3 separate regions of the Homo sapiens genome follow, and all the other regions are linked to region 3. Evidence: promoter capture Hi-C in 16 types of primary human blood cells and fetal thymus (Javierre and others, 2016). All regions are on one chromosome and are shown on one strand. The core of a region is centred on a gene start or on the middle of the fragment in contact, and the rest is flanking DNA. Distances in the headings are between cores, read along the strand shown.

The links. The method cuts DNA at HindIII sites, captures the fragments that hold promoters and counts their contacts. A CHiCAGO score of 5 or more calls a contact.
Region 1: a fragment that was not itself captured here is called in contact with the fragment with the promoter of KRI1 in region 3 in 1 of 17 cell types (neutrophils); the score reaches 6.0 in neutrophils.
Region 2: a fragment that was not itself captured here is called in contact with the fragment with the promoter of KRI1 in region 3 in 2 of 17 cell types (fetal thymus and non-activated CD4 T cells); the score reaches 7.3 in fetal thymus.

The regions. Positions count from the first base shown.
Region 1 is chr19:11,079,516-11,082,910 of GRCh38, forward strand. No RefSeq gene overlaps it. Among named protein-coding and RNA genes, the nearest start is that of LDLR, 8.2 kb to the right of the region's middle. The HindIII fragment of the contact is 2,798 bases long and covers 645-3,395 here.
Region 2 is chr19:11,376,297-11,379,697 of GRCh38, forward strand. It overlaps EPOR (erythropoietin receptor), which reads right to left. Exons shown (of 8, transcript NM_000121.4): 7 at 2,395-2,482; 8 at 911-2,299. The coding sequence ends at 1,688. Among named protein-coding and RNA genes, the nearest start is that of SWSAP1, 3.3 kb to the left of the region's middle. The HindIII fragment of the contact is 5,258 bases long and covers 1-3,401 here.
Region 3 is chr19:10,564,612-10,567,990 of GRCh38, forward strand. It overlaps KRI1 (KRI1 homolog), which reads right to left and starts at 1,399. Exons shown (of 19, transcript NM_023008.5): 1 at 1,295-1,399; 2 at 1,106-1,179; 3 at 318-423. The coding sequence starts at 1,388. CDKN2D (cyclin dependent kinase inhibitor 2D) reads right to left here. Exons shown (of 2, transcript NM_001800.4): 2 at 1,849-2,806. The coding sequence ends at 2,447. RefSeq lists enhancers at 504-1,071, 820-869, 1,072-1,639, 2,588-3,095 and a silencer at 1,140-1,669. The HindIII fragment of the contact is 9,818 bases long and covers 1-1,972 here.

The DNA of each region.
Region 1 (3,395 bases), core at 794-3,293, 520 kb after region 3:
CTCACACCTGTAATCCCAACACTGGGAAGATGAGGCGGGCAGATCACGAGGTCAGGGATTCGAGACCAGCCTGGCCAACATGGTGAAACCCCGTCTCTACTAAAAATACAAAAATTAGCCGGGCATGATGCTGCATGCCTGTAATCCCAGCTACTCTGGAGGCTGAGGCAGGAGAATCGCTTCATCCCGGGAGGTGGAGCTTGCAGTGAGCTGAGATCGCGCCACTGCACTCTAGCCTGGGCAAAAGAGTGAGACTCCATCGCAAGAAAAAAAAAAAAAAAAGCTGCAAGCTCTGTCTCCCGGGTTCAAGTGATTCTCCTGCCTCAGCCTTCCAAGTAGCTAGGATTATACGCGCCCGCCACCATGCCTGGCTAATTTTTGTATTTTTAGTAGAGATGCGGTTTCACCATGTTGGCCAGGCTGGTCTCAAACTCCTGACCTCACGTGATCCACCTGCCTCGGCCTCCCAGAGTGCTGGGATTACAGGTGTGAACCCCTGCGCCTGGCCAAGAAAAGTTGCTTGAATGAAGAGTAAATAGAAGACCCAGAAAGAAATGATTCGTCCGAGGAAGGTCACAGAAGCAACGTAATCAAGATGGAAATCTGACTCTTCCTAATTTTGGCCAGACTTCCCATCCCTCCAAAGCTTTCCAGACTCTTCCAGATCATTCTAGATATTTCCAGAAATCATTCGTGAAATCTAACTAGGAGTAGTCTGTAAACAATGTGTTTCACACAGATACAATTCATAAACGATGAGAAGACAAGGACACTTCATGAATGAAATTTTTACGGCCGGGTATGTTGGCTCACGCCTATAATCCCAGGACTTTGGAAGACCCAGGCAGGAGGATTGCTTGAGTCCAGGAGTTCAAGACCAGTCTGGGCCACATAGTGAGACCCTGTCGCTACAAAAAATTTAAAAATTAGGTAGATATGGTGGTGTATGCCTCTAGTTTTAGCTTTTTTGGAGGCTGAAGCAGGAGGATCTCTTGAGCCCAGGAGGTTGAGCTGCAATGAGCTACGATTGAACTACTACACTCCAGTCTGGGTGACAGAGAAAGAGGCTGCCTCAAAAAAATAAAAATAAAAAAATAAGGCCGGACGCGGTGGCTCACGCCTGTAATCCCAGCACTTTGGGAGGCTGGGGTGGGCAGACCACGAGGTCAGGAGATCGAGGCCATCCTGGCCAACATGATGAAACCCTGTCTCTACTGAAAACACAAAAATTAGCTGGGCGTGGTGGCGTATACCTGTAATCCCAGCTACTCGGGAGGCTGAGGCAGGAGAATCACTTGAACCAGGGAGTCAGAGGTTGCAGCGAGAGGAGATTGTGCCACTGCATTCCAGCCTGGCAACAGAGCAAGACTCCGTCTCAAAAAAGAAACAACAACAGCAACAACAACAAAAAAAACATAAAAAAGTTCGGGCACGGTGGCTCACACCTGTAATCCCAGCACTTTGGGAGGCCAAGGTGGGTAGATCTCTTGAGGTCAGGAGTTCAAGACCAGCCTGGCCAACAAACATGGTGAAACCCCGTCTCTACTAAAAATACAAAAAGTAGCCGGGTGTAGTCCCAGCTACTCGGAAGGCTGAGGCAGGAGAATCGCTTCAACCTGGGAGATGGAAGTTGCAGTGAACTGAGATTGCGCCACTGGGTGACAGAGTAAGACTCTTGTCTCAAAAAAAAAAAAAGAAAGAAAGTTTAATTTAATGATTCAAATAATGACCTGCTCGAGAGATAAATATAAAGTCTAACGTAAGAGGTGTATACTTTTTCCTCTGTCCTGCTGTCCTCGCCCCACCTCACCCCAAGTCCCAACCTGATTGATCAGTCTCCTTTCCCTCTGGTAGCCCCACTCCCATGACCGAACCGAGAAGTCATGCACCCGCATAAGAACTCTAATTTTTTTTTTCAAAGTCTTCTCACTGCCCCAAAAATAGTTTCTTTCATTCCCAGGGGATGTGAAAGTGTCTCTCCCAATTTTATTTCAACCTCCCAGCGTTCCACACATATGCCTTGCCTCAGCCAGCTTTCACTGATCTGCCATTTCCACCTCGGCGCTGCTCCTACCTGCGGAAATCCTGTCCATCCATAGTCTGATTTCTGTTGTTCCAGAACATTCTTTTTTTTTTCCCCTGGAACATTCTTTAAGATACCTCAATAAATGAAACCAGAGGGTATAGAGCAGTATGAATGGGTACTACAATGTACAGGGGGAAATGGAGGGGAATATGATATACTCTCCTCCTTGTATATGCTTAGAATGTTCTAGAAGGATATGCTTAAAAGGTTAGCAGTCCTGGCCAGGCGTGGTGGCTCACGCCTGTAATCTCAGCACTTTGGGATGCCAACGCGGACGGATCACAAGGTCAGGAGTTCTAGATCAGCCTGACCAATATAGTGAAACCTCATCTTTACTAAAAATACAAAAATTAGCCGGGTACGGTGGCATGTGCCTGTAGTCCCAGCTACTTTGGAACCTGAGGCAGGAGAATCGCTTGAACTCGGGAGGCAGAGGTTGCAGTGAGCCGAGACTGTGCCATTGCACTGCAGCCTGGGTGACAGAACAGGACTCCGTCTCAAAAAAAAACAAAAAAGGTCAGCAGTCTTAATTGTCAGAGGGCAGGGGACCTGCATGGGATGGAGGTTTTTCCATGTGTCCACCTTTTGAGCCCTTTTGCTTTTTTTTTTTAAATCTTTTTATTGTAGCAAAATAGATATAAAATTTACCCTTTTTTTTTTTGAGACAGGGTCTCACTCTGTTGCCCAGGTTGGAGTGCAGTGGCATGATCTTGGCTCACTGCAGCCTCTGCCTCCTGGGTTCAAGCGATTTTCCTGCCTCAGCCTCCCGAGTAGCTGGGATTACAGGTGCTTGCCACCATACCCGGCTAATTTTGTATTTTTAGTAGAGACGGGGTTACGCCAAGTTGGCCAAGCTGGTCGCAAACTCCTGACCTCAAGTGATCCGCCCCCCTCGGCCTCCCAAAGTGCTGGGATTACAGGCAGGAGCCACCACGCTCAGCCCTAAAATTTACCATATTAACCATTTTCAAGTTCAGAGGCATTAAAGTATACTCACATTGTTGTTCAACTGTCACCACTACTCACCTGCAGAAGTTTTTCATCTTGCAAAGTGAAAACCCCATACCCAATTTCCCGTTCTTCCTCTCAGCCCCTGGTAATCACTATTCTACTTTTTGTCTACTTTTTGTATGAATTTGCCTATTCTAGGACCTAATAGAAGTGGAGTCAAACCTGTTTGTCCTTTTGTGGCTGGCTTATTTCACCCGGCCTTATATCCTCAAGGTTTATCCATGTTGGAGGATGCCTGAATTTCCTTGTTTTTAAGGCTAAATTTTATTCTATTATATTAATATGTCATATTTTGTTT
Region 2 (3,401 bases), core at 279-2,778, 810 kb after region 3:
GGAGACCAGCCTGCCCAACATGATGAAACCCTGTATCAACTAAAAGTACAAAAAAAATTAGCTGGGTGTGGTGGCAGGTGCCTGTAGTCTCAGCTACTCAGGAGGCTTAGGCAGGAGAATTGCTTGAACCCAGGAAGCGGAGGTTGCAGTGAGCCGAGATTGTGCCACTACACTCCAGCCTGGGTGACAAAGCGAGACTCCATCTCAAAAAAAAAAAAAAAAAAAAGTTTGAGACTTCCTTCTTTTTGCACTCAACGTTGTTACTAAGATTCATCTACATTTTTTTAGTTCATTCCTTTTTCCATATTGCATATAATTCCATGGGTGACTATACCCTGATTTCTTCATCAGATTGCCTTATTTACTGCTGCGAACATTCTTGCACACATGCCCTGGTACGTGTGTGTGTTTTTAGGGGCCGAGACAGGTGGATCACCTGAGGTCAGGAGTTCGAGGTCAGCCCGGCCTACATGGTGAAACCCCGTCTCTACTAAAAATACAAAATTTAGCCAGGCATGGTGGCATGCACTTGTACTCCCAGCTACTTGGGAGGCTGAGACAGGAGAATTGCTTGAACCCGGGAGGCAGAGGTTGCAGTGAGCTGAGATCGAGCCACTGCACTCCAGCCTGGGTGATGAAGACGAGACTCTGTCTCAAAAAAAAAAAAAAAAAAAATCAGTCAGGCTTGGTGGTGCACGCCAGTAGTCCCAGCTACTCGAAAAGCTGAGGCAGGAGGATCGCCTGAGCCCAGGAGGTCGAGGCTGCAGCGAACCATGTTTGAGCTACTGGGCTCCAGCCTGTGCAAAAGTGAGACCCTGTCTCAGAAAAAAAAAGAAGTAGTTAAAGCAAAACTCCCACTGAGTTACTTGTTGACACCAAGTGTCATCAGAGTACTTTCTTAGAACATGGCCTGATTCAGAATTACTTTTATTATTATTAGTGGCAGAGACTAGCTAGTGGCCCTTAAACAGCTTTGCCCTTCCTGGGTGTACAGCTAAACTAAGTTTCCTGGCCTTTCATGTGACTGGGGTCATGTGACTGTTTCCAGCCAGTGAGGTGTGAGAAGAAGAGAGGAAGCCCATTTCCAGGCCAGATCCCTCAAATGGCCCATTGAGGGTCATTGCTGCCCTTTTTCTTCCCTTGCTGACTGGCAGTTTGTAGAACAGGGGATCCATCTAAGTACCCTAAGAGAAGGTAGAGCTACAGACTGGAAGAGTCTGAACCTCTGACTCATCCCATGGATGGCTGCCCATTTGAGCTGAGTTAGGAGAGAGAAATCATTTAATGTGGTAAGCCAGTAAGATTTAAGAGCTGTTTAACATACTATTTTGTTATGTTATGAGTAGCATTCAGATTGCAGATCCAGCTTCTGAATAAGCTCAAGAACTTTAACTTCTATCCCTATGGCCTATGCCCAGGGGAAGATGGGACTTAAAGGGTGTTTGTAGAAATCATGGTAGAAAAACTTACATACATATGTGTATATATATATATAGATACAAAAAAAAACTATACATATTTAAAAATACTGCAAGGTTGTGGTTTCCTGAGCAGGATGGATTGGGCAGACAAAATCAGCAATGCCCCTGCTCCTGAGAGAGGCCTCGCCATCCCTGTTCCATAAGTCTTGAGTCTGCACTGGTTCTCTGAGTCATATTGGATCCCTGATCATCTGCAGCCTGGTGTCCTAAGAGCAAGCCACATAGCTGGGGGGCAGAGGCTCAGCGGCTGGGATAAGGCTGTTCTCATAAGGGTTGGAGTAGGGGCCATCGGATAAGCCCCCTTGGGCTCCCTGGGAGTCCCCTGAGCTGTAGTCAGTTGAGATGCCAGAGTCAGATACCACAAGGTACAGGTACTTTAGGTGGGGTGGGGTAGGGGGCAGCTCAGGGCACAGTGTCCATGGACGCAAGAGCTGGGAGCTGGGGTCCAGGATAGTGTACTCAAAGCTGGCAGCAGAGGCTCCCTCTGGGCTGGGCTTCGAGGCCAAAGCAGATGAGCAGGAGGATGCTTCTGAGCCTTCATCCATGGCCACTATGTCCACACTGCCACCAGGCCCTGGGAGGTCCTCACTGGGCGGGTTCCGGGGCAGCAACCATTTGTCCAGCACCAGATAGGTATCCTGGGCATGCTCACTGCCCACTGGCTCCAGCAGGGGGCCCTCATCATCTGTCCCCGGCTCCACTGCCTGCATCGTCCCCCAGCAGCGCTCTGAGAGGACTTCCAGGGAAGCAGGTGGGTCCTCCGTGAAGGGGGTGCAGGGGCTCCACCACAGGCAGCCATCATTCTGGTACAGCCACAGCTGAAGAAATAGCACCAACCTGCTCAGAGAGGCCTGCAGTTTGGCTGCAAGAAGCAGGGAAGCCCAGGCACTGAGGGGACAACCAGGCCACCTACCTGGAAGTTACCCTTGTGGGTGGTGAAGAGGCCTTCAAACTCGCTCTCTGGGCTCGGGATGCCAGGCCAGATCTTCTGCTTCAGAGCCCTGTTGAAGCCAATATAAATAGTTACATAGATATGACTCATTGAATACTCACCAATTCCCCCTCCACTCCCAGTCATAGAGGCACAGATACACTTGGTCCCTGTGATCACAATGGAGGCAGAGGAGTACATCAGGGCCAGGGGACAGGGGTTTTGGCTGAAGCATCAGCAAGGCCCTACAAAAGGGTAAATGGAACAGGGTATTGAAGGGTGCATAGGAGTTCAATATACCTTGGTCATTCTCCCTTTAATCCTGGCCATGGCCAGGTGCAGTGGTTTACACCAGCACTATAATCCCAGTACTTTGGGAGGCTGAGGTGGGAGGATCATTTGAACCCAGGAGTTCAAGACCAGCCTAGGAAACATAGTGAGACCCCCATCTCTAAAAAAAATAAAATAAAATAAATTAAAAAACCCAAAACCCTGGCCCAGATTTTTCCAGGAGGTCCATGATGTCACTTCATAGATAAATATTATGTTACCTTCTGGGGTAATGAGAGAAGGCATTTAGGATAAAATCCAAGCCAGGCACGGTGGCTCATGCCTATAATCCCAGCACTTTGAGAGGCTGATGTGAGCAGATCACCTGAGGTCAGGAGTTTGAGACCAGCCTGGCCAACATGGTGGAACCCCGTCTCTACTAAAACTACAAAATTAGCCGGGCATGCACGCCTGTAATCTCAGCTACTCAGGCGGTTGAGGCAGGAGAATCACTTGAACCTGGGAGGCAGAGATTGCAGTGAGCCAAGACTGCTGCACTGCACTACAGCTTGGGCGACAAGAGTGACTCTGTCTCAAAAAAAAAAAAAATTCCAAACTCCTCCCCACCACCCTGCAGAAGGCCCTGCGTTATATGACCCCTGTCACCTCCCTCATCTCAATATCTGCCACACCCCCTTACATACCACTCTAGCCATGTG
Region 3 (3,379 bases), core at 149-2,648:
GTCAGCAATTCCCACCTTGAATAGTGCCAAGGACACAGTCATTAACTCCACCACCAGGTAATAACCTAGGCTCTGCTAAGGACTTGTGACTTGTGAAGCAATTCATTCAATAGTCAAAACAGATGAACTGTGTAAACTGGGTAAATCCCAATCTATCCTTAAAACAGCCCTGAGGGGAGATGCTACCGTTAGATATACTTTACAGACAGGAAAAGAGGCTCAGAGAAGTCAAGTCACTTCTCTGAATCCACAGTCAGGAAAGGACCCCGGATTCTGCTCCAGAGGAAGGAGAGGTTTAGACAGGAGTGGCCCCGGACCTGTTCTGTTATAGAAGGTGGCATCTTTCTGATAAATGCGGGGGTCCTTCTTCTTCAACAAGGAGAGCGTTTTGTAAAAGTCCCGCTCCTGCTGGGGATCAAATTCCTAGGGCAGGAAAAGGGTTGGGGATAGATTTCAGAAGGGAGATAATAAGAGCCCTGGCGCCAGCAGGTGAGCTCAGCGTAGGGATTAGGATGGAGGGGGGTGGATCTGGCTGGGGAGGTCAAACAGGTGGTCAAACAGCAGGAGGGAGAGGGGCCCTCTTGGGGTGGGCAGGGGCAGGCCACAGGTAGGTACAGGATATGGGTAGAGGAAGGTGAGGGGCAAGGAGAAGGTAATTCCTGGGGAAGACAAAGACTTGACAAGGGGCAGGTGGGCTGAGGGCACAAGAGAGACAGCGGGGAGGGGCTGGGCCAGGCCGCACAGTGGGGCCAGGATCAGGGCTGATGTGAGAAGTTGGGCGCCCCACGTGGCGCAAGGAGTACACTAAAAAATGGCTAGACTCTTGAGGATGAAAGAGGAAAGGGGGGGTTCTTGGGGGACAGAGTCGCCCCACACATCAGAGTGGGCAGGTGGGGATCGTGGCAGGGGAGAGAAAATAACGGGGATTTGGCTCCCCTGGGGAGAGGGGGGGCACTGTCTGTCCCTCATGGGATGGGGAGCGGAGGATGGGACGCTCCCGCAGGGCGCTCTGGGGTTGGGGGTTCCCCCCCGTCTACATCGGGGTCGGGGTGCAGAGGGGGGCTTGGACGCCTCCGCACGTCCAGGACGGGGCGGGGACGCGCACCACGCGCTCGTCGCTTGAGTCCGACTCGGAGCTGGAGTCGCTGCTGCTGTCTCGGTCCCCGTAGCGATCCTTCACTGCGGGACACAGACGGGATGCCCCCCCCCAGGTCAGCCGGCGGGGCCACTCGACTCCCCACTTCCCAACCGGCCGGCGCGCGCAGGCTCCCGCGCGCATGCGCCCCGCACTCACGCCGCTGCAGTTCCTCGCGCTCCCGGTAGCGGTTGTACCGCGCGGCAAACGCCGCGTTCACCCGCAGCTGCGACGACCCGCGCGGTTCCGGCATGGCGGTTCTGTGGCCCATTGCGCACGCGCATTGAGGAAGCCCTGGACGGGGCGGGGCCGCCCTCAGTCCCGCCCGCATCCACTTGTAAACGAGGCGTACCGCTGCTAACCCCGCCCCTGGCTTTTCCGGGATCCCTTTCGCCTCATCACCGCAGTCACCGCCCACGGCTACGCCCCTGCGGGGAAGGCCGCGGCCACCGCCCACCCGCCCCACCCCCTGTGCTCCGGGCACCCAGCTGACATCTGGGGGCCCTTTCTCCACTCGCGGTTTCCTGCTTCCCTTCCGTTCCGACAGCGAAAACCGCTGCCCCACCCAGCTCACTCACCCTGGCGCCCTGGGAATTACTATTCTCTCCCCTCACCCACCACATCCACGATCCGCGACCCCCGTCCTCATCCCCATCAACATCCGGGATGTGTAACTCTCCATCCCAGACTCAAAAATCAGAAGCCACCCGTGCTGTGATCATGCACAAGTCTTAATTTAATGGGTAAAAACATTAAATTATTACAACATTTTTTCCAATAAAGCATAATAAATAGAATCCATTTCTTTTAAAACGCTGTACAAGAGACTGGAAAACAAGCTTCCAACAGAATATGAATAACTCATAACTCATTCTACCTTCTTATTGATTTGGGACGCTCCCCCCACCCCCCATGCCTGAAGCAACGTGCACACTTCAGGTCTCTGAGCACAGCCGGCCAAGGCCACCAGCTTCTAGGCTCCCTGGAGGTCATGACTTCACTCTTAAATGCTCTGCCCTTGGGTCTCGTCTGAGGCCCCAGCAGCCTGAGGCGCAGAAGAAACTGAACCGTTTAGGTGGCTGTGGCCTGCAGGAGCCCTTCTCTGTCCAACACACCAAAAGGAGTGAGAAAAACAAATGAGAAACGTCCCCCAAACACTCACACCCCCAAAACCAACACCTATAAGCCACAAACTGTGCTCCTCCCCTACTGCAGCAGTGGGCAGGAGAAACAAGAAGAGAAAGTGTTTCTTCCCCTCTCTTCTGATACATAACCCCACGGGGTTCTCTTGCTGGAGAGGGTGACCCCAGATCACAGCGGGGCCACCATGTGGCCCTGCAGGATGTCCACGAGGTCCTGAGCCCCTCTCTGCAGTGCCAGCTCCAAGGGTGTGAGACCCCTGGCGTCCCTGCGATGGAGATCAGATTCAGCTGCCAGAAAGCTGACCACAGCAGTGTGACCCTCTTGAACTGCCAGATGGATTGGAAGTGCCCCGGTGCCATCAGGCACGTTGACATCAGCCCCGTGCTCCACTAGGACCTTCAGGGTGTCCAGGAATCCAGTGCGGGCTGCGTCATGGACTGGACTGGTACCGGAGGTGTCCTGGACATTGGGGCTGGCACCTTGCTTCAGCAGCTCCAGGGCGATGGCGGTGCTGCCAAACATCATGACCTGTGTGAGGGACAGAGGATCAGGAGGTCCTCAAGGGAGGAGGTTCCACAAAAGGGGTCACTGGAAAGAGAAGGGTCATCCAGAAAGAGGCATCTCCCAGAAACAGGAAATGCTAGAGGAGGGGTCCTCTAGTGAACGGAGAAGCTGCATAAGCCCCCAGGAAAGTTCTTCTGGGAATAGGGACCCCCCCCAAAAGCTGGTCACTCCCTTAAGAATGAGACCCCCCAACCCAGAGAACAGCCCCCCATGGAAACTTTCAAGGAACCTAAGACTCTCCCCCAAGGGACCAAAGACGCCCCCAGATATGGGCAATCACCAGGAAACAGAAAATCCCCTCCAGGAAATGGGCCCCCAGAGATGGAGAACTACCCCCAAAGAATTGATAGTCCTCATAAGGGAAAAAAGATGTCAAAGGAAAGCGAACCCCTTCTCCAGGAAATAGCCTCCTCCTACATAATGGTGATGTCACCTCAGAGTACCTGAGAGCTCCTTTCAAGAAGCGGGATTCCAAAAGTAATAATAAAAGAGAAACGAGACTTCCCTGTAAAATGTCTCCCAGGGAATATAGGGATG